Regions from separate parts of the Homo sapiens genome. Here all the other regions are linked to region 1. Evidence: promoter capture Hi-C in 16 types of primary human blood cells and fetal thymus (Javierre and others, 2016). All regions are on one chromosome and are shown on one strand. The core of a region is centred on a gene start or on the middle of the fragment in contact, and the rest is flanking DNA. Distances in the headings are between cores, read along the strand shown.

What was found. Contacts are between HindIII fragments. The CHiCAGO score rates a contact against its expected background, and 5 or more counts as called.
Region 2: a contact is called between a fragment that was not itself captured here and the fragment with the promoter of TECTA in region 1, in 1 of 17 cell types (naive CD4 T cells). The highest score is 5.1, in naive CD4 T cells.
Region 3: a fragment that was not itself captured here is called in contact with the fragment with the promoter of TECTA in region 1 in 1 of 17 cell types (naive CD4 T cells); the score reaches 6.2 in naive CD4 T cells.
Region 4: a contact is called between a fragment that was not itself captured here and the fragment with the promoter of TECTA in region 1, in 7 of 17 cell types (M1 macrophages, naive CD4 T cells, monocytes and 4 more). The highest score is 6.5, in M1 macrophages.

The regions. Positions count from the first base shown.
Region 1 is chr11:121,098,796-121,103,888 of GRCh38, forward strand. It overlaps TECTA (tectorin alpha), which reads left to right and starts at 2,448. Exons shown (of 24, transcript NM_005422.4): 1 at 2,448-2,647; 2 at 3,870-3,934. The coding sequence starts at 3,871. It overlaps TBCEL-TECTA (TBCEL-TECTA readthrough), which reads left to right. Exons shown (of 30, transcript NM_001378761.1): 8 at 3,870-3,934. The HindIII fragment of the contact is 15,442 bases long and covers 1-5,093 here.
Region 2 is chr11:120,313,826-120,318,918 of GRCh38, forward strand. It overlaps POU2F3 (POU class 2 homeobox 3), which reads left to right. Exons shown (of 13, transcript NM_014352.4): 11 at 1,536-1,602; 12 at 3,404-3,539; 13 at 4,528-5,093. The coding sequence ends at 4,567. Among named protein-coding and RNA genes, the nearest start is that of TLCD5, 8.9 kb to the right of the region's middle. RefSeq lists an enhancer at 1-130 and a cis regulatory region at 58. The HindIII fragment of the contact is 2,105 bases long and covers 1,517-3,621 here.
Region 3 is chr11:120,329,945-120,335,037 of GRCh38, forward strand. It overlaps TLCD5 (TLC domain containing 5), which reads left to right. Exons shown (of 3, transcript NM_001198671.2): 3 at 33-3,742. The coding sequence ends at 571. Among named protein-coding and RNA genes, the nearest start is that of ARHGEF12, 3.9 kb to the right of the region's middle. The HindIII fragment of the contact is 977 bases long and covers 2,170-3,146 here.
Region 4 is chr11:120,504,268-120,509,360 of GRCh38, forward strand. No RefSeq gene overlaps it. Among named protein-coding and RNA genes, the nearest start is that of GRIK4, 4.9 kb to the right of the region's middle. The HindIII fragment of the contact is 1,199 bases long and covers 2,085-3,283 here.

The DNA.
Region 1 (5,093 bases), core at 1,198-3,697:
TATATAAAATACCTGTATGTACATATGTGTGTACATGTGTATATGATAAATCATATGTATAATATATATGTACGTATATATAATAAATTATATATACGTACATATGTATACACACACATATATGTATGTTTTTCCCAGGTAGGCCTTGATATTGGCATAATAGAGCTGCTTCCCTTGAGTGCCTGACCAAGTCCTTGTCATTCAACAGGGCTCTCCAGAGAAAAAACTGCCCATTCGGGGAGTCCTGCTTTGAGTGGAAAGTGATACACTGTGTAGCCTGACCTTGCCCGGTCATTGGCGGAGGGCTGCCCCATGAAGAGTGTGTCCTGGGTTTCAGCACTGGGGCTGAGCCTGAAGGCACTGAGGGCTGGAGGCTGTTGGCCAACTGTGCTTCTCACATCTCTGTTGTACGGGGGTCTAAGTGGCGCATCTCCCAGTCTGCCATAGCCAATAACTGCATCATTTCAAAGTAGCTCCCATCTGACCATCTGTTCCACAGAAAAAGGTATACAAAACCTAAGAAAACAACACAAAAACAAAATAAAACCCATTCTACTTGAGTTTAGAGGACTGTATTTTTTTATTTTGTTTGAGCTGTCTTTCCTCTTGCCTATAAAACAGCATCAACTTCTGCCATTTTTTTTTTATAAAGCACAGTTATCTTGGGTAACTAGCTCCAACCCACCCCCACCGTACCCCACATCTAAATCTTGTCAAAATCTTTGCTCACCTCACACTTTCAACGAAATAAGTCCTCCTGCTGACACAGCATGAAAAGACATTTTTGTCATTTGTCAATCTGTGACCACTGGGTGTACACCAGAACACACACTCACTGACCAGCTTCCCAAAGTGATAAGCCAGCCTGGTGTCTCCCCACGCACCTGGTGTTCCCTTGCAGCCGGATTCTCAAAGGCATTCTAATTCATGTATGCCACCATCTTGTGTATCTGGTTATGCCCAGATGGCATTTATCCGGGCAGCAGTCCTGTCTCAAGAAGGATGGAGCATCCAACATGGGTCAAAAGGGCTGTGATATAAATATCCTAGAATGCATGAAAAAGGAAGAAAGCAATTAGTATGCCACCAGCAGTTAATTAAAACACAGCCAGCGATTTTGCTTCAAGACATTTAGGTTGGCTACTGGACTAAAACCTAAGGCTGGACAAAGAGAATCCTTCTGTAATGAGTCTTTGATTTGAACTTAATTTTATTTTAAATAGGCACCCAAGAAACTAGCTTTTCTGTTATATAAATATACGCCATTCTAAGCACTCCTAGAATCCAAAGAAAAACAAATAAATGTGAGTCATTTGGAAAGAAGCAGTCATTTAACATCTGTAAGTAAATATGTGTGGAGGATTCATAATACCAGTGAGAGAATAAACAATGTGGGAAACCTACTGAATTATCACAGGTTTTTGGAAAAACACGGAGTAATTTAAACTAAAAAAATTTAGCTCGCCAAGCACTCTTGTCCATTTTAAGACAACATGCTTAAACCCAGAATTATATTTCTTTTGTACAGTTGGCATTTAAATGTCTGGTCAGAGAAAATTTGCAGTAATTTTTAAATTCCCATTGATGTGCAGAAGAGTTTTTTTTTCCTGCTACAGTCAAGTTACTTCTTTCTTAATAAATTCCATTTAAACATTTTGAATAGTAGATTTAGCTTATGCCTTAGCCAGTTTTGCTCATTCCACATCTACTGGATGCTTGGAAGCATCTAACCGAGCACGTTTTCCTCTTATTCACATGCCTTTTAAACTATTTACTTACTGCAAATTTTTTATCAGAAGGGGTTTATCTCCCCCCTCTGCCTCCAGTGACCCTCACTGGGTGTTAGGGAAGGTTTCCAGGCCACAGTTTGAGATTTCCCTTGTGGAAGATCGTGTCTAGCGCTAGGTCCCTTGTTAGATTTTGCCTGGAAAGTGCCCTGTCCTATCTCCTGCAGAGCGGTGCATCAGAGAGAAAAGAGAGGGCATAAAACCTAAAAAGTTTGGAAATTTTCTTTAAATACTTCATGCATACCTGTGAAAAAATAGAGTAGAGCCTATCTGTGGCGACTGTTGAAAACCAGAGAAACAAAAAAAGACTTTAATAGAAAACCAACTTCATTTAAATGTTGGAGGCAGCTGCTTTGTTTGGAGTTTTAATCCCATGCTGGTGGATGCTAATTCTGTAACATTATACAGTTGCCTTCTTTTGGGTACAAAGGTAGAAGGGGGGTTTTCTTTTGTGTTTTTCAGTGCAAAGTGATTCTGATCAGAAAGGCCCAAGGTTTCAGCTCCAAGTACCTGACATTTCCATCTGAATCTACTTTTTTTTTCAAAGGGGAAAAAAAAAGGTCTAGTTTTTCAGGAAAAGAACCTCTCTACGCAATCCTGAAACTGATCTTTAGATTTACTTTTCCTTAATCAATAGAAAAAAACTTGATTGCAGCTCAACACTTACCTGTCTCTAGTGCAGGACTAACTTAATTTTTGGTTTTAAGAGTACGAGATTCAGACATTATTTCAGGAATCAGAAATTATTGGCAACAAGTTGAGGAGAACTGACATGAATTCTTGTTTTACCTAATTTTTTCTGGCTTACCAAGATTTGGCTTAATATTTCTGACTCAGTTCCTCCAGCCTCTACAGAACAGGTTAGTGACATTTTTCATAAATACAAATATCTAAATGAATCCTCCTTACTTCTCTCTGAACCGGTTCCCTAAGGGCTCTAGTCTTAAACTTGCACGGCATCTTCTCCATTAAAGCTGTGTGTGATCTCTGCTAAACCTTTGTACCCTTTCCAGCAAAACTGTCTAATATTTAATATGTGCTTGAAATTACAACATATATACTTGACAACTAAAGATTTGCAATAAAACTCTCACAGGATAAATTCATTGCCTTTCCCGTGAAAGTTTGGCTGAAGAATTGTGATAACTTCAAATGATAAGAGGAAGGTTTTTCTTTTTTAAGAATACTGTCAGGAGGAGACTTCATGGTCTAGCCACACGCTTGGGTGATGTCTAACTTGAGCTTGCGTCCGTGTTCTCATCGCAGCTTTGCAGAGTGACACAGACAAAACATGCTCCTGATGGAGGGTAAAGCCACCATGCAACCGATTGTAAACTAACACGAAAACAAGTTTCTCTTTGCTGTGTTCCTTCTTTAATTAACTTGCTGGAACTAATTGGTTGCTTGTGCGCTGGATTCTATTTTTATTGTGATTCCAACTCTGGATTGGTCCTTTTTTATTACTAATGTTTCTATCATTCATTTCACTGTGGGAAGTCAGTGAACAGAGTAGACTGGCCCTGAATCTGGTCAATACTTCAAAATGATGGATCGGCTCCATTCTATGGAGAAGGTGATGGCAGACTCTAAATTCTCCTAGCTGTAGAACACATTGTGTTTTAACCAACTTTTGTTTGATTCTGATGGAAAGCTGTAGTGAAAATTAGGAAATCCAGGTCTCACTGGGGTGTGGTTTCTGCTGCAGAGACACAACCCGGGACCTGCATGCATCTTTAGCGTTGGGTCCTAGTTTTCAGCGCTTTATTTGATGCAGAGGGGATACCTTTCCTTTACGCATACCACTCTCACTGATCCTAAATAATTACTTGACAGTTTGAATGATCTCATTACACTTCCAGACTGGCTTCTTCTGGGCATCTAATTTGTTCATGAAGTGTTGAACTTCGGAGGACCTGCCAGCATTCAGGGGATTTCAGCCCGACTCAGCACTGTTGATGTTGTTATGTGAATTTGTTCTATGACGGTTTTGATGGTCTTGGGATTAGCCACTAAACACACCTGGTGTTCTGTTTACTCTGGCAAGCTGGGGATTTTTTTTTCATTTTCTTTTTAAAATTCCAGGATGAATTATTCATCATTCCTTAGAATTTGGGTCTCTTTCATCTTCGCACTTGTACAGCACCAAGGTGAGTACTACAGAATTCCATAAAGCTCTCAGTTAGCATGCTCTTGAATTGATAAAGAGACACTTTTATTGGAACCACAATTGTAAGGGCAGGTGCATGTGTGTCTACAGATACAAGAGAAAAATGTAATTAAATTCTATTATCAAGGGTAAAATTCATTAACTTTAAATGAGGTTTACTTATATTCCCACTTTTTTCTTATTTAACTTCAAATACTATTTGTATGTACCAGCTTGCCCTGTGCTAGTGGAGTAGATCTTTAAAATTACGCAAAATTATTTCCATTAAAAGTAGATAAGATAGGGGTATGTGCACTTCATGTCTGATCACTGATTTCCATTAAGGCATTTAATTTGTGGTGGAGACTTTAAAGAATCTACTTATTTCGGCCAAAAACTAGGAAATTACAATAGCATTGATGTCAGTGGTTTGTGTATCAGTGACCTTTTACGTGGCCCTCAAATCTAAAACTTAAATAAGACAATTTTTCCCCTCAGTGATTCCTTCTTTTTCTCTGTGTAGCACTGCCCTGGGTAAGTGAAAGGCCACATATGTCTTTTTTCTACTGTTGTTTTGGATTTTAGACAAAGACGGGGCGGTCTACGTAGATTTTAACTTTTTATGGCTAAAATTCTAAGGCACCTTTCTTTACCTTGCGAGTTTGTCTAGTTCAAGTGGCACATGAGTACAAGTCTGAGATGAACACGTCAAGCCCCTGTGCAGTGCTAATATTTTTCCAGAATTGGTGAATTTAAGCAGTTAAACCATAGTGTGAAACCCCACGGGAATGAAAGAGGGCCCTTGACTTCAACCTCCTACCCCAGCTCCAAGAAAGTACATTTTATTTGGTGGGAAAAAAAAAATCCTGGAAACATAGCTATGTTTATTGTGAAATTCTCAGCTTAGGGCAAGCATGGATAGGGATATTCTTTCTTTTAGCAACTCTGATGTTATTGATAGGCCATGCTGCTAACAGTTTTATATATATATATAAAAATAATAATGGCTTCTGCAGTGTTAATTACCGTAGTTTAAACCTACGCCCTTGTGTTTAGCACCCTCTTTTTCATTTGACAAGTATTATTTACCATATTAGATATTCTTAATGTTTGTATCCTTCTTAAAATTAAAAATATTTAACAGTCCGTTCTTTCCTATT
Region 2 (5,093 bases), core at 1,319-3,818, 780 kb before region 1:
CGACGTGGCAAAACCCTGTCTCTACTAAAAATACAAAAATTAGCTGGGCATGGTGGCAGGTGCCTGTAATCCCAGCTACTCGGGAGATTGAGACAAAAGAATCGCTTGAACCCAGGAGGCAGAGGTTGCAGTGAACCGTGATCGTGCCATTGCACTCCAGCCTGGGTGACAGAGCGAGACTCCATCTCAAACCAACAACAACAACAACAACAACACATGTCTTGGGTGTGACAGCAGGGAGGGAGGAGAAGAGGTAGGGAGATTATTGATAACATCTCTTACCACTCTGCCACCCCTCCCAACCTGTGCCCGTCTCCACCCTTCACAGGCCCCCAGCCTACTGAGGAGGCTCATTGTATAAGGAAAAGTAAATGAAAACAGGAAAACCATTTCTGATTAATGACGAAATAAGTACATGCTGCATCCTGTTAGGGTGGGATCTTCCAAACTGGGGAGAGCAGAACTACCTTTCAATAGCCTTTGCGAACACCTGGTCAGAGCTTCCCCTGTTAGCATGAGAAGAATAAGGGGCAGTGAAAATACACAGATTTTAGCTCAAAAGAAGAGTCGAATAACATCTAGAAATATACAGCAGTTGACAGCTGCTTCTTCCAGAAAGGGAGAGAACTAGCATTTAACAAGCTGACACTCTTTGCCAGCTGTTGGGTTGGAAGCTTTACAGACATTATCTCATTATGACTTAATTAAAATATATAATGGAAGTATTGCTGCTATTTTACAGATGAGAAAACCAAATCTCAGTAGGGTTAGATAACTTGCCCAAAGTCACACAGATAGTGGTGGAGCTGTCTTACTCCCAGACCTGTTGGGCTCCAAAGTCTATTCTTTCTATTACATCTTGTTCTACATTGTTCTAGGATAGTAACAGTGAGGGGGAGGTTCCTGAATTGCATGGGAGGGTAAACAAAGTTATCCCAGGTCCCTTTCTAATCTCAGAGCTGATGATGCTATGAGGTCTCCAGGGCAAAATAAAAAGCTTCAGAGACCAAAGTTCAGTGCCTCCAGTCACCTCTGGAGAGTCCATGCTCCATTCATCCATCACAGTGGGAAAGCCTGCGAGAGGCTGCTAGGCTGAGCAACCCTGCTGTCCTCAGCAAAAGCAGGGTTCTTTTAGGGAAAAAGCAATGGAGACCAGAAAATGACAGGCAACCAGCAGTATCTGCCACAGCAGGGCCCAAGAGGCTTGTCTTGCTCACCTCCAGGGCTCTCAGGCAAGGCAGCCTTCGGCTTGGCAGTGTCAAAGAAACCTTATCAGGCAATACACATTGTCAGGGGCTGGAGGGCCCTGGTGTTGACACCAGGGAACTTCCGGGGCAGACTGGACCTGGTTCTGGATGCCAGTATGTGGTCCAGAGGCCTTCCCATAGAAAGGAGGATGGCATGTAGGCTAGGAAATCACCAAGGAAGCCAAGCCCTGGTCTCTGTAGAGTCTGGGGCCTACTGTCTTTGGAGAGTGATCTGAAGTTGGAGAAGGGAGCAGAAATGGACATTTACAAGCTTCTGTTGTTTTTCAGGTATCTCCCTCAGGGTCTCTGGGCCCCCTCTCTGTCCCTCCTGTCCACAGTACCATGCCTGGAACAGGTGAGCTTTAAAATGAGATTTCTGAAGAACACCAGAATTCTTTTAAAAAATGGGATATTAGAACTGAAAGGTATCTACCTAAGTCAGGCTTCCCTAAATGCATTTCAAAGGATATTAAAATCTGTGTTGGGAAAAAAGGGTTCTGTGATCAAATAAGTCTGGAAAATGCTGAGGAAGCCCAGTTTAAACAAGCGAATTGTTTTGTTTTGTTTTGCTTTAACTGCAGCACTTCTAAGCACTTAGGTGCATAAAATTCCAAAATGAACTGTGTGGAAGGCCCAGGGGAGGCAAGGCTTCCCAAAGTAATACTCTAGTCCTCAAAAAGCACCTAATTATTTCAACGCACTAGACAGGATGATCGCATGCCCAAGGGTGGCCAGGACAGTCCCAGTGTCTGCTTCATGTCCTGACATAATTATCAATAGCACTTCCTTCCACTTTTTTTTTTTTTTTTTTTTTTTTGAGACAGAGTTTCACCCTTGTTGCCCAGGCTGCAGTGCAATGGCACGATCTCAGCTCACCACACCCTCTGCCTCCCAGGTTCAAGCAATTCTTCTGCCACAGCCTCCCGAGTAACTGGGATTACAGGCGTGTGCCACCACGCTCGGCTGATTTTTTGTATTTTTAGTAGAGACAGGGTTTCTCCATGTTGGTCAGGCTGGTCTTGAACTCCTGACCTCAAGTGATCTGCCCGCCTCGGCCTCCCAAAGTGCTGGGATTACAGGCGTGAGCCACCGCACTCAGCCCCTTCCACTTTTCAAAGTGTCTTAGGGTCTTAGTTTGGATGGTAAAATATATGTCACCCTATCCATAGAACACAGTTTGGGAAACACAAACACAAGAGTTAATCCAAATACAAATCTGCCATTTCACAGAGGATGAAAATAAGTTTCAGGAAAGTGAAACAAATCAGCACAGGCCACAGAGCTGCTGAGTTGATGGCTGGGGACCAAGACAGGGCTCAGGTCCCCTCACTCCCAGTTCATTGTTCTTTTTGTTTTTGTTTTGTTTTGTTTTTTGAGACAGCGTCTTGCTCTGTTGCCCAGGCAATGTGGTGACACAATCATGGCTAACTGCAGCCTCGACCTCCCAGGCTCAAGTGATCCTCCCACCTCAGCCTCCTGAGTAGCTGAGACTACAGGTGCATGTCATCACACCTGGCTAATTTTTGTATTTTTTGCAGAGACTGGGTTTCGCCATGTTGCCCAGGTTGATCTTGAATTCCTGGGCTTAATCGGCCCTCCTGCCTCAGCCTCCCAAAAGTGTTGGGCTACAGGCATGAGCCACCATGCCCAGTTCAGTTCATTACTCTAGTTTCTAGAAAACCAAGCACCTTTTCTTTGTGGAGACTGGAGAACTAGAGCAGCTGGCAATCTTTCATCGTGCCCTCAAGTTCTCTTTCTCCCCTATGCACTTGCCTTTCTTTCCTCCTCTCTTCCTTCTTGTTCTTTTTCTCCTACCGCCTCTTGGTCTGGGGCTGCATGTGCCCAGCCTAGGGTGTGTCCTAGAGTAGGATGATTTTGGCATCTGTCCTTGGATTTGGCAAGTCTTAGACTTGCAGAACCAGCCACACCACTCTCCAGGGCCTGGGCTGCAGAGAGCATTTGTGACGACAGCCCCTCTGGGTGTGGGCAGAAGTTGATGCTAATGAGGCAGGAGGTAGTCAGGTGGGTGTGGCTAGGGAGAGGGTGAGGTCCCTTTGGGGATACACCAGGAAATTTGTGTCTGAGGGGCTATGTCCCGATGTCCCGGGATCCAGCAGCATTATTTCCCCCTTGTTTTTGCCTCTCCTTATCCTCAGTAACGTCATCCTGTTCCCCTGGGAACAACAGCAGGCCTTCATCTCCTGGCTCAGGACTCCACGCCAGCAGCCCCACTGCATCTCAAAATAACTCCAAAGCAGCAGTGAACTCCGCCTCCAGTTTTAACTCTTCAGGGTAAGGTGAAGGGGACGGTGCAGAGACATCCCAGCAGGGCCAAGGGACATGTGAGAAGCTGAGCCTATGCCTTGGGAAAGAAAGCTTGTCATAGAAAGGGTTGGAAAAGAGGAATGGGGTGGCACAGAGAGGACAGAGTGACAGCCAGACTGGACTTTATCCCTAGGGAGTGGAGATTTTAAAAAGAAGCTTCAGTCAGTGAGCCATCCTGGCAAGGAGCTGATGTCAACAAAGTCAAAATTTCCATCCTTACTTTGAGGGTGGAAATTTCCAAACACTCATGTCAGAAAGAGCCAGGTCCTTTGCTGGGCTTCATGGGAACCCAGTTCTCAGGAGGTTCTGATGTGAGCCCAGAGCTTAGGCACAAAGAAAACCCTGGGCTTCAAACATGGCTGACACAGGGAAAGGGGGAAGTGGTGCCAATTCCTGTCTCCCACTCCCAGCTGGGATGCAGTGGGGCAGGCAGCCTCCTGGGCTTCAGTTCATGAAGCAAAGAATCTACTCTAAAAAGTATTCTCAGAGCTGATGCCTTGTGAAAGAGAGATTCTGCCCTGATTCAGAACAACACAGAGATGTGTAGGTTACAGACCTGAGTTCGTCAGAAAAGATGAACCCAGCTGTCCAAATCCAGGCGGTTCAGCAAGGCAGCCAGTTCTTATTGGCCAATTGTTGCATAGCCCGAAACGTTGGCGCTCCTCACCTACCCCTACTGAGAGAGAGAAAGAGGACCATATAATATACATTACCAGCTTTAAAAAATTGTTTCGAGGTATAATTCATATACCATAAAATTCACCGTTTTAAAGTGTGCAGTTCAGTGGTTTTTAGTATATTCACAAGGTTGTGCAACCATCAGCGTTATCTAATTCCAGGATGTTTTTATTACTCCTACCTGCAAAAGCCCCTGTACCTGCTAGCAGTCACTCCCCATTCCCATCTTACGCCATCACATTATTAGCTTTAGGATTGACTTCTTTCTTCCTTCCAGATCTTGGTACCGATGGAATCATTCCACCTACCTCCACTGAGACCAAAAAGTTTCTCCTACTCCAGCTGGCCCTGTATTCCCCCTGGAAGGAAGGGAATCATGCCTTCTATATACAGACAGATTGCCTTCAGAAGAGTGGAAGAAAATCTCCACTATCAATGAACCCAGACTCTTGTCTTCTTCAAGAGCAAGGGCCTCCGGAGATCCAAACTGTGATTGAACCAAGTGCAGACTCCTAATGCTCTTGAAATACACAGCCCCTCCTAGGAGCTTACCATTTTCACCTTCCTTGCCTATGCCCTTGCCTTCTAGTTCCAAATATTTTAGCCAGCTTCACTGTGGCAATAGTCTTTCAGAGAAAAGACTTCTTGCTGTTATTCTCCAACTCATCCGTGGGCTTCTGGGGACAGCCATTTGGCTGGGGTGCCAAACACCAGAAGGGGAGATAATAGTTTTGACTCTGAACTTGGCCACAACCCCTGAACTGATCCCAAAATCTGTGAAAAGATTTGAATCTGATATCTCCACCAAAGCCTTGATGTTTTCTCTGTACAGCTAAGTTTTCT
Region 3 (5,093 bases), core at 1,408-3,907, 770 kb before region 1:
ACTCAATTTGCTTCTGTCTTGGTTTGTTTCAGGCTCACCCAATACACCTCTCCAAGTTCATGTCCTGTGTCTCACCTTGGGCTACTTCATCTTCGACTTGGGCTGGTGCGTCTACTTTCAGTCTGAGGGTGCCTTGATGCTGGCTCATCACACATTGAGTATCTTGGGCATTATCATGGCCCTTGTGCTTGGGGAGTCTGGCACAGAGGTCAATGCAGTCCTCTTTGGAAGTGAGCTTACCAACCCCTTGCTACAGATGCGCTGGTTTCTCCGGGAAACAGGGCACTATCACAGTTTCACTGGAGATGTAGTGGACTTCCTCTTTGTGGCTCTGTTCACAGGAGTGAGGATTGGTGTGGGAGCTTGCCTCCTTTTCTGTGAAATGGTCTCCCCCACGCCTAAGTGGTTTGTGAAGGCTGGGGGAGTAGCGATGTATGCTGTGTCTTGGTGTTTCATGTTTAGCATCTGGCGCTTTGCATGGAGGAAGAGCATCAAGAAGTACCATGCTTGGAGAAGCAGGCGGAGTGAGGAACGGCAGCTGAAACACAACGGACATCTCAAAATACACTAGCCAAGGCTTGCTCCAGATTATGGATTGGGTTAAGTCAGCCATGGGAACCAGGTTGGAAATATGACTGTTACATAATTACACTTATAACAAACTTAGGTTTCAATAAAGGGCTAAATGTATTGATCAATTTGGTCAGTCTTCAAGCCGAGCATATACCAGTATTAAAACACTAACTTCTACAGTAGCACAGTTGTAGAAAGTGAGAATACTCCATGGTAGTTGGGAATAAGTGAGAACTGTGAAGTGAGTACAACTGGCATTTGTTTTCATTTGTGGTGACCCTGGGTCCTCCTGTCCCTGGGAGGTTTGATGTTCAGGCAGTTTAGAAAGGAACTCGAAAAAGATTAGTGCTATTTCTTGTTCCTTTGAGAAGTAACTCTTTCAATAAACACTTATTTCTGCTTTCCATATAGCAATTTATCTAAGTTTACCCCATTTACTATAAAGTGAGGGGCTTACAGGAAGAGACACGCCTTTGACATTCTGAACATTAGATCGGGGAATTGGGTCGCTTAAACAGAGGGGCATAGGAGGGTGAGAGTGAAACTGGCAGTGAGGGGGAGGGCTACTTACTGAACCTCCTATACCAACTGTGCCAGAGGTGCCCAAGACCACTGCCAGGTTCTGTAATTCTCTGGGAAGACTCAGTGGACTCAGCATATAGTCTTACTTATAGTTTTGATTTATTATAGTGAAAAGATACAAAGAAAAATCGGTAAAAGGAAAAGGCACCTGAGACAAAGTCTAGGGTAAAGCAAGCACAAGTTTCCAGAGTCCTCTCCCAATGGAATCACACAGGATGCACTTAATTCCCCTAGCAGTGATTTGTTACGACATGTGAATGAGTTGTCTACTGGACAAGGTCACTACAGACTCAGTGCCCAAAGTTTTTACTGAGGACAGGTCATCTAGGCAGGCTTTCCCTGGCAGATAGCAAAATTCAAGACTCTCAAAAGGAAAGCAGGTGTTCAGCATAAGCCATATTGTTTGCACAAGCAGTTCAGACACAGTAAGCCAGTCTTATCAGTTAATTGTGGGAGCCCCTCCAAAATCTAAGTTCCCAAATGCCGGCCAGTGGCCAACCCTGTAATCAGGCCTCTCCAAGGATAGCAGTTTAGGCCTGCTATGTTAACTCTTTTCTGCACAAAACCTATAGAGTTAGGGCTTTGGATCTGAGATGAATGAAGTGTGGGTAGATTTACTGAGTCCTGTTATATGGGTTCTGCCCTACCAGGAAAACTATGCCAGTTCTCAGGGCTTTTGTGCATTAATCTCCTAGGCATTTGAGGCTATGACTAAATTCCATAGGGATTTATCATGTGGATTCCACTGTGCTTGAGATGGCAGTTTAGATTTCAGCTCTGCTGTACATATTGCAAACTAGAGCCAAAGACTTTAAAGTGTGTACTGGCCTCAGGGGGATGAGGTTAATTTTTTTTTTTCATTTTAGATACTTTCCCTTTTAGTACTCCTCCTACTTTTCTTATTTTTACTAAAAAGGTACCACTCTATGAACAAACTAATAAAACAAGGCCAGTCTTGGAAGGAAAAAAATAATAATTCTTAGTGTGACAGTCTCCAAGAGAAGCAAGAATATAAGCTTAGAACAAGGGGTTAAGAATCCAGAATTCCTGGGTTCTTTTAACTAATTTTGCTACTCACTTGCCACTTTGGAGAGCTACTCACTCACTTTGGATAGGTTACTTGTTTCTTCTTTGCCTGAGTTTAAACCTATTGTGAATGAATGAAATACCCTGTAGTATATTTCATAAATACATTATGTGGCATTTTATTAATGGAGGTCTTTAATGTAGGGCTTTTATGGAAATATGAAGTATTTATGTATTTATTGATTATTTATTTTTACCATGTTATTGAAGTCAATGGTGTTTGATTAGCTCAGTGGGTGAGCAAGCATATGGTGCTACTGGAGTCAAGGCTGGTCAGTAGGAAGCATCAGTCCATTCCATGGCCACTGGTAATCTAACGTAATGAATGGTGTCTTTTGTTGTTGTTGTTGTTGTTGTTGTTGTTTGAGACAGAGTCTTGCTCTGTCGCCCAGGCTGGAGTGCAGTGGTGTGATCTCAACTCACTGCAACCTCCGCCTTCTGTGTTCAAGTGATTCTCCTGCCTCAGCCTCCCGAGTAGCTGGGACTACAGGCGTGTGCCACCATGCCTGGCTACTTTTTGTATTTTTAGTAGAGACGGGGTTTCACCATGTTGGCCAGGCTGGTCTTGAACTCCTGACTTCATGACCCACCCGCCTCGGCCTCCCAAAGTGCTGGGATTACAGGTGTGAGCCACCGTGCCCAGCCATGAGCGGTCTTGAAAATGAAAAATGGTCTTGGCCACAGAAACCAGGTATGAGGGAGTGGTTGGAATGGTATAAAGTCATCACTGTTAGGGAAACAGTAACTTTAAATGCATGTTAACAGTGGGTCTTTAAAAATGAATGTCATTTGGTTAAAGAGTTTTGCTGGGCATTGAGATAATCTGACAGCATCTCCACTTCCTGTTTTTTTTCTTAATCTCCACTTTTTTTTTTTCTATGATGAGCGCCCCTAAAATGCTGGTAAGCTTCTTTCCAACAAAATTGCGGTCAAAGTAGGATGCTGGGGAATGCTGATTTTAGCAAAAGCTTGTAGAAAAGAGTGGCCTGGCACATGAGCTTAAAAAAAAGAAAAAAAGCTGGCTCTTGAATTTTGGCACAGTGCAACCTGTTCCATACCAGACAAATGAACAGGCTTAATCTGGTACCAATTCTTTTTCTCTCTTACTCCTCAGAAGTGAAGGGACTGCAGATCTTGTTGTTTTGGGGACACTTTCATGGAACTGTATGTAGGTTTTTTTGAATGGTGAGAAATCTGAATAATTGGTAAGGGGAAGGGAATCCCTCATTTCAGCTTTTCTTGATGTTGTTACTAATAACTATGAAAAAACTTCTGAGAGAACAATGTGAACTGAAGATGACTCAGCAGTTAAGACAATGCTAAGTTCTGAAACCACAGGTAAATGAAGGGCTAATTAATGTGTGGTATACTTGGACAAAATGAAGTACTCATTTGCACTGGATTACTGTGTAATGATAACGAACACTGTTCAAGAACGATTTATATTTCCATAAGATTTGTACTAAATTTTATAAAAGTAAAACAACTTTTTATAAACCCAGAGTCTGTCTTTATATTTATGTGGTGGTTTTGCCAAGAAGTTAAAAAAAGCCTTTTGACCTGTAGAAATGTTGACCTGTATTCATACTTACTAGTGAATATCTCTAATCTGCTGTTCATTATCCATCATTCCCCCTATTTTTTTTTATTTTGGGGGGTAACAGTTGACATACACAAAACAGTTTGCCAAAAGAGAGAGGAAGAACCTTAATGTGTTTCTTGTTCTGCCACCTGTTTGGACACTTGTCTTGAAAATGTTGATGTCAAGTGAGTTGACATCAGAGACATCATCTGAAGACAGCTGGAGGCCCTGTCTTGAGGACTGTACTACCAATGCCTAAAACAGTCTGGGATGCATAGTAGATACTTAGTAAGCATGTTGAAAGAATGGACAAGAGGATGAGAATGTGGTTTAGAATCATCCCCATTGGAAAACCTCCTCAAAGGTTTTCCCAGTGGATTGGGTCATCAATGTCATTTTTCTAAGTAAAGTACTACGGACCCTGAGGAGTGTGTTCTACCCAGACTGGCTTGACTTTCTGAAGGCATCCTATAGTTACAGCCTTTAGAACAGTTGAGCTATCGGCAGCTTTAAAGAGGCTTTCAGTTTTTTTTTTTTTTAAATCATTAATGCTTTGTAGGTGACTATAGAGATTTTCATCATTTAAAAAAATTAGTTCTGGAATGAATAACCACTGGCTTAATTCAATCTTTTGCTTACCATCTTCTGAAGCTTTCCCACAGCAAAATGCCTTCTTTGCTCACAGCTAGAACCGTGGGTCTGTTTAAGTTTGGAAAGATCTTGAAAGCAGCTTGCCAAGAGGTTTTGTATGCAAGGAAGAGAAGGTGAATTAGGAAACTTTCCCAGTTTGTTTTATTCCTGAAGCTTAAGTATTGAGGCTTCCCTCAAGTATTAAGGGAAGAGAGGAACTCCAAAATGCATGATTTGATGAGTCATTGGGTTCAATTAATTTTATACTTACACTGTAACATTATTAGGATAGGGGAAAATAAGATATTTAGTACTTTTAAGAAAGATTTATTAAGTTTGGGGATAAGGTTTGCATTTTGGTCAGTATATATATGTATATATGTGTGTATATATATGTGTATATATATGTATATATATGTGTATATATGTATATATGTGTGTATATGTGTATATGTGTGTGTGTGTGTATATATATATATATATATATATATATATATATATATATGAATGGGATTCCTTCCGGTTGCATGTAAACACTCAATTTAAGAGTCTTCAGGGTAGAATTGTCATGCTAGAATACACCAGCAGGTGGCAATGTGTCCTGGTCTCATCATTAGGGAAGTGCCTTGGCTAATCTGCT
Region 4 (5,093 bases), core at 1,434-3,933, 590 kb before region 1:
TACAAGAAGTCATTTTAAAAAACAAACATGATGTTCATCTATTCAGATTGGTTTTATTTTGGAACTGTCTTCCTCTCATGTAAATGTATCCTTTTTAAAAAAGGCCATTAATGCTATTTACCTAGTAACACTTCAGTGTGTCAATAATATTACTTTTGTCAATAGAGCACTTAAGTAATTATTGCCTTTTCTGGTATTAAGTATCTTCGCTGCATTTAAAGAAAAGCACCCATACATCTAAAGAAAAAGGTCCAAAAACATAAGGCAAGTTTTTACTTTCAACAATAAGTGTTACATTTCTCCAAAGATCCAAATTTCCTTTTAGCCTTGGGCCAAGAAGACAGACTGAGAGAATCCAAGAATTTACAGATGGAAGTTACCTCATTCAACCTCCTAATCTACTGCTGGAATACCCTCTAGGGCAGCCCTGGCAGATGGCCATCCATCTGCTTGTATACTTCCAGGGCTGGGGAGCTCATTATCTCCTGAGGCAACTCATAAATTCTTTCTTATTTGAGCTAAAAGTGGCCTCTCTGTAACTTCTTTTTTTTTGAGACAGAGTCTCGCTCTATCGGCCAGGCTGGAGTGCAGGGCACGATCTTGGCTCACTGCAACCTCTGCCTCCCGGGCTCAAGCAATTCTCCTGCCTCAGCCTCCCGAGTAGCTGGGATTACAGGTGCGTGCTACCATGCCCGGCTAATTTTTGTATTTTTAGTAAAGATGGGGTTTCACCATATTGGCCAGGCTGGTCTCGAACTCTTGATCTCAGGTAATCTACCCGCCTCGGTCTCCCAAAGTGCTGGGATTACAGGCATGAGCCACCGTGCCCGGCCGCCTCTCTGTAACTTCTATCCACTGGTCCTGGTTGTGGAGCAACGTAAGAAAGATCTTAAGTATTTGAAGATAGCTACTACATTTCCCTTTTGTCTTTTCCGAATTAAGATAACTGAATTGTTTTAAAATGAAGATTTTTGCCTGGAATCTGGAAGAACAAGATGGAAATGAGTGTATGTTAACTGTTGTTATAAAGGAAACCTTTGTTATAATTGCAGCTCACTGGTAAGGTATCTCTTCTAGTATTTCACACTTGGGCATAGCCTCCTATATAATACCCCTCTTGAAAGTAACCTATCCCTTACTGAGCTACGAAGAGTAAGAAGTCCCTCCTGGGTGAATAGAATCTTATACCTTTTGCTATTCTGAATTCCTTAAGAGAGCCCAAATTCCTAAGCATTGCTCTGAGATAAAATTTAAAGGTTTTCCTTTAGGAGGGAAAATTAAATGCATGAGTCTGTATTCTTTTTGACAGTAGAAACCATGGCCAGTTTTTCTTTCTGTACCCTATAGTGTCTAATACTATGCTGTACCTGGCAGACAGAAGCTGTACAATAAATTATTGCTCTATTGCATGATGCTGAGTTACACATATGATGAGAGATATATGTATCTATGAAGTACATATATACAGAAATATGTATACACATATAGACATATATGCACATATGTATATGCACACGCTTTTTTGCCTTTGAATGCCTTTATAATATCCCTGTGTTATTTCATAATAATTTATAGGAATATTTAATGCCAGTCTTCAGACAAAACTATACTCTAGATAAATTGCAAACCCCAGACACCTGGGGCAATATGAAAACTGCCACCTTATTTTCGATATCCGGGGGTGGTTTCATTGAGAAGACAGATCCTTTTCTCTGTACCTTCCATTGCTAAGTGATTGTGCTTTGCTCCCAGGTAGAAAATGCCACTCTGTTCCTCCTCCTCCGACCTCTTCCTCCTGTTTGAGTGGATTGTTTCTTCAGTTGCTCTTATTGTTGGAAGTGGTGAAGAAAAACAGTAAAAGGATGGGGGAAAATACTGCGGCTTTAATACTTGCTTAACATTTTACACAGCTTGACTTTCATAGTGATCTTTGACCAGTGTCTTTCATGCAGCCGGAAGCCCTGAGTTTTAGCCCAGTTTTGCTATTTCCTGACTGAGTGGTTTGTATCTATAATGTCATGTAATGGAACCTACCTGGACCAACTATGAAAATCAAATGACGAAAGATGAATGTGAAAGTATAAAGCTTATCACAAGTAAAATCCCGCTTTTAGAGATGTAAGCATAGTACCCCTACTATGGTGGAACTGGTTAAAGCCTTTATTTGTGCAAATGAGCAGCAAGTCCCCTTTCCCAGACAGGCATGGCCATAGTGGAAGACTCCCGGCTACAATGCAGGTCTATGGAAGATTCAGACTGAGAATTCTGAGTGCATACCCAAGCCTCTGTGTGCTAAAGCCCTTGGCTCCAACTCTTGAGTTGCCAAAAGTTGCACGCCCCTTCCCCTGCCTCCATCCAGACTGTCAGACTAAACTATGACCGTGTAACTGAGTTAATTGCAAAATGCCATAAAGAACATACCTGATGTCAAGTGGACCAAAACTGTTAGAAGGAAAATGTAGTGCCTCTATAACATCTTTTACTTGACTACCAACGCTAAAGGGACCAGCCCTGGATTTGTCTGGTTTCCTATTTTGTCTTTGGTGCCTGGCACATAATAGGCACCAAAGATGTCTTGAAGAACTATTGTCACAGCAGCTTATCTCCTCTGCAGAATAGCAAGTGGAAACTGAGACACGTGGTAGAAATGAATTAGGTTCTCACATGAGGGATGGGAGCAGGGCTGCGGAATGAGAGGCAGGTTATATTCTGATTAAGGATGATCTAAATTTTTCTTTTAATTTCAATGCGAGCAGTATTCTTTACACCTAGACTAATAAATGAGACAAGAGACATTGCGGGGAGGGAGCTGTGTAATAATATAGTTGTCAAGTGGGGATGGGACCTTTTAACATTCGATGTAGTATTTGCAGCCAGCTGCGTTAAACAGCATGCTGCCATGAGACTTGGGGACTATGTGAACCACACACACATATATGTTTGCTCTTTGCCAATACTTGCCCATAATATCACTGGGCAAAACCACTGCTTACTGCATCCTTTAAAGCATGAGTAAACATCGAGAACATTTCTCCTTCTAACTCACTTCTGCTTCAAAACTGGTTCTGTGAGACATCTGCTGTAAGAATGAACCATTTATCCTCCAAACAAGTGACAAGAAGAACACAGAATTTATTTTCTTTTAATCTGGAGTTTAAGTACTCCGATAGGACTGATGAATTTTAATAGTCTTGCAATATGATATATAATCAGGCCCTTGCTTCCTTCAACCTAAGTTCCTCAAATGTGAACCCCAGCTTCAACTTAGGTTGTAAAGACTTTAAGCTTACCAAGGGCACAGTTTCATATTTGCCAGTTAGGATTTCATCTGACTCATCTGGACAAATGACAGGAGCAAATCCGATTTGCCAGAACTGTAGACCTCATTAACCCCTTCTCTCTATTGGTTTATCCATTCAACACATTTACTAAGAATCTCCTATGCCAAGCACTGTGTGGTTAATAGATTTTTTTTTTTTTTTTTTTGAGCTGGAGTTTCATTCTTGTTGCCCAGGCTGGAGTGCAATGGCACGATCTCAGCAACCTCTGCCTCCCCAGTTCAAGTGATTCTCCTGCCTCGGCCTCCTGAGTAGCTGGGACTACAGGTCCCATGCCACCACGCCCGGATAAGTTTGTATTTTTAGTAGAGACAGGGTTTCTCCATGTTGGCCAGGCTGGTCTCAAACTCTGACCTCAGGTGATCCACCCGCCTCGGCCTCCCAAAGTGCTGAGATTACAGGTGTGAGCCACTGTGCCCGGCCAGAGATTTTTTAAAAAGCCTATAGTCTAATTATGAACTTGAGATGAACCTTCAAGGGACCTTTGGAAAAGAAATGGTAGGTAAATTTAAGATCAAATATCTGATTTGCGGATATACCTGAGGCAAATACAAAGAAGGGAGAAGCTAAAATATAAATCCAGGAGAACAAGCTCACAGTCTATTAGTGAGAGCAGACGTGAAACAAGTAAGTGACCATAAACTCTAACAAGCACAAGAGAGATCCCGAGAAGGGAGTAATTACTTCTGTTGGGAAGGGACTAGATAGCCAGGTATGATAAACTTCTAGTAGGAGAGGTTCCCAAACAGAATTCTGAGCGGTTAATAGGAACTTGTGTATCAGTGTGTATGTGGGAGGTAGGGTGGGGACTCTGGGCAGAATTCAGTGTGTTAAAGGCACAGAGGTATGAAATGGGATGAGCAGAGAACTCAGTGCTGCTTGGTACTGACTGAAGGTGAGATGGACAGAAATGGATGATGGGTGAGGTGGGGAAGTAAGCAGGGAACTTGTATGCTGTGCTAAGAAGTTTTGGACTCGAGGCTGGGTGCGGTGGTGCACGCCTGTAATCCCAGCACTTTGGGAGGCCGAGGCGGGCAGATCACGAGGTCAAGAGTTGGAGACCAGCCTGGCCAACATGGTGAAACCCCATCTCTACTAAAAATACAAAGGTTAGCCGGGCGTGGTGGCGGGTGCCTGTAGTCCCAGATACTCAGGAGGCTGAGGCAGGAGAATCGCTTGAACCCGGGAGGCAGAGGTTGCAGTGAGCCGAGATTCCGCCACTGTACTCCACTCCAGCCTGGTGACAGAGGAGTGACTCCGTCTTAAAAAAAAAAAAGTTTTGGACTCAATATGAGGTCATGAAGGGGTTTTCAGCAAGGGTGTAAAGTGGTGAAGCTTGTTTTAGAGACATCACTCTGGCAGCCATTTGTAGACATATTGGAGGGAGCCAATTTAAAGGCAGGGAGATGAGCTAGAGGGCCGCTGCAATAGTTTCTAAGACATGGTGACATGATATGATATGTGCCACTCAGCAAGGTGACAACAAGTCACCTGCTCACCGTGTGCCTCAGCTGGCCCCATTTATGCAGAGGGATCATTATGAATGTGTGATGAACCTTCAAAGGGACCTTCGGAAAAGACATGGCAGGTACATTTAAGATCAAATATTCTTCTTAGTGGATATACCAGAGGCAGATAGATGGAAGAAATTAAAGATAAATCCAAGAGAACAAACTCCTTCCTGTGCGCTCCGACCACCATGGCGCCCAAGCACAATGAATCCTATCCGTCCTGCACAGCATAGCAGCTGGCTGT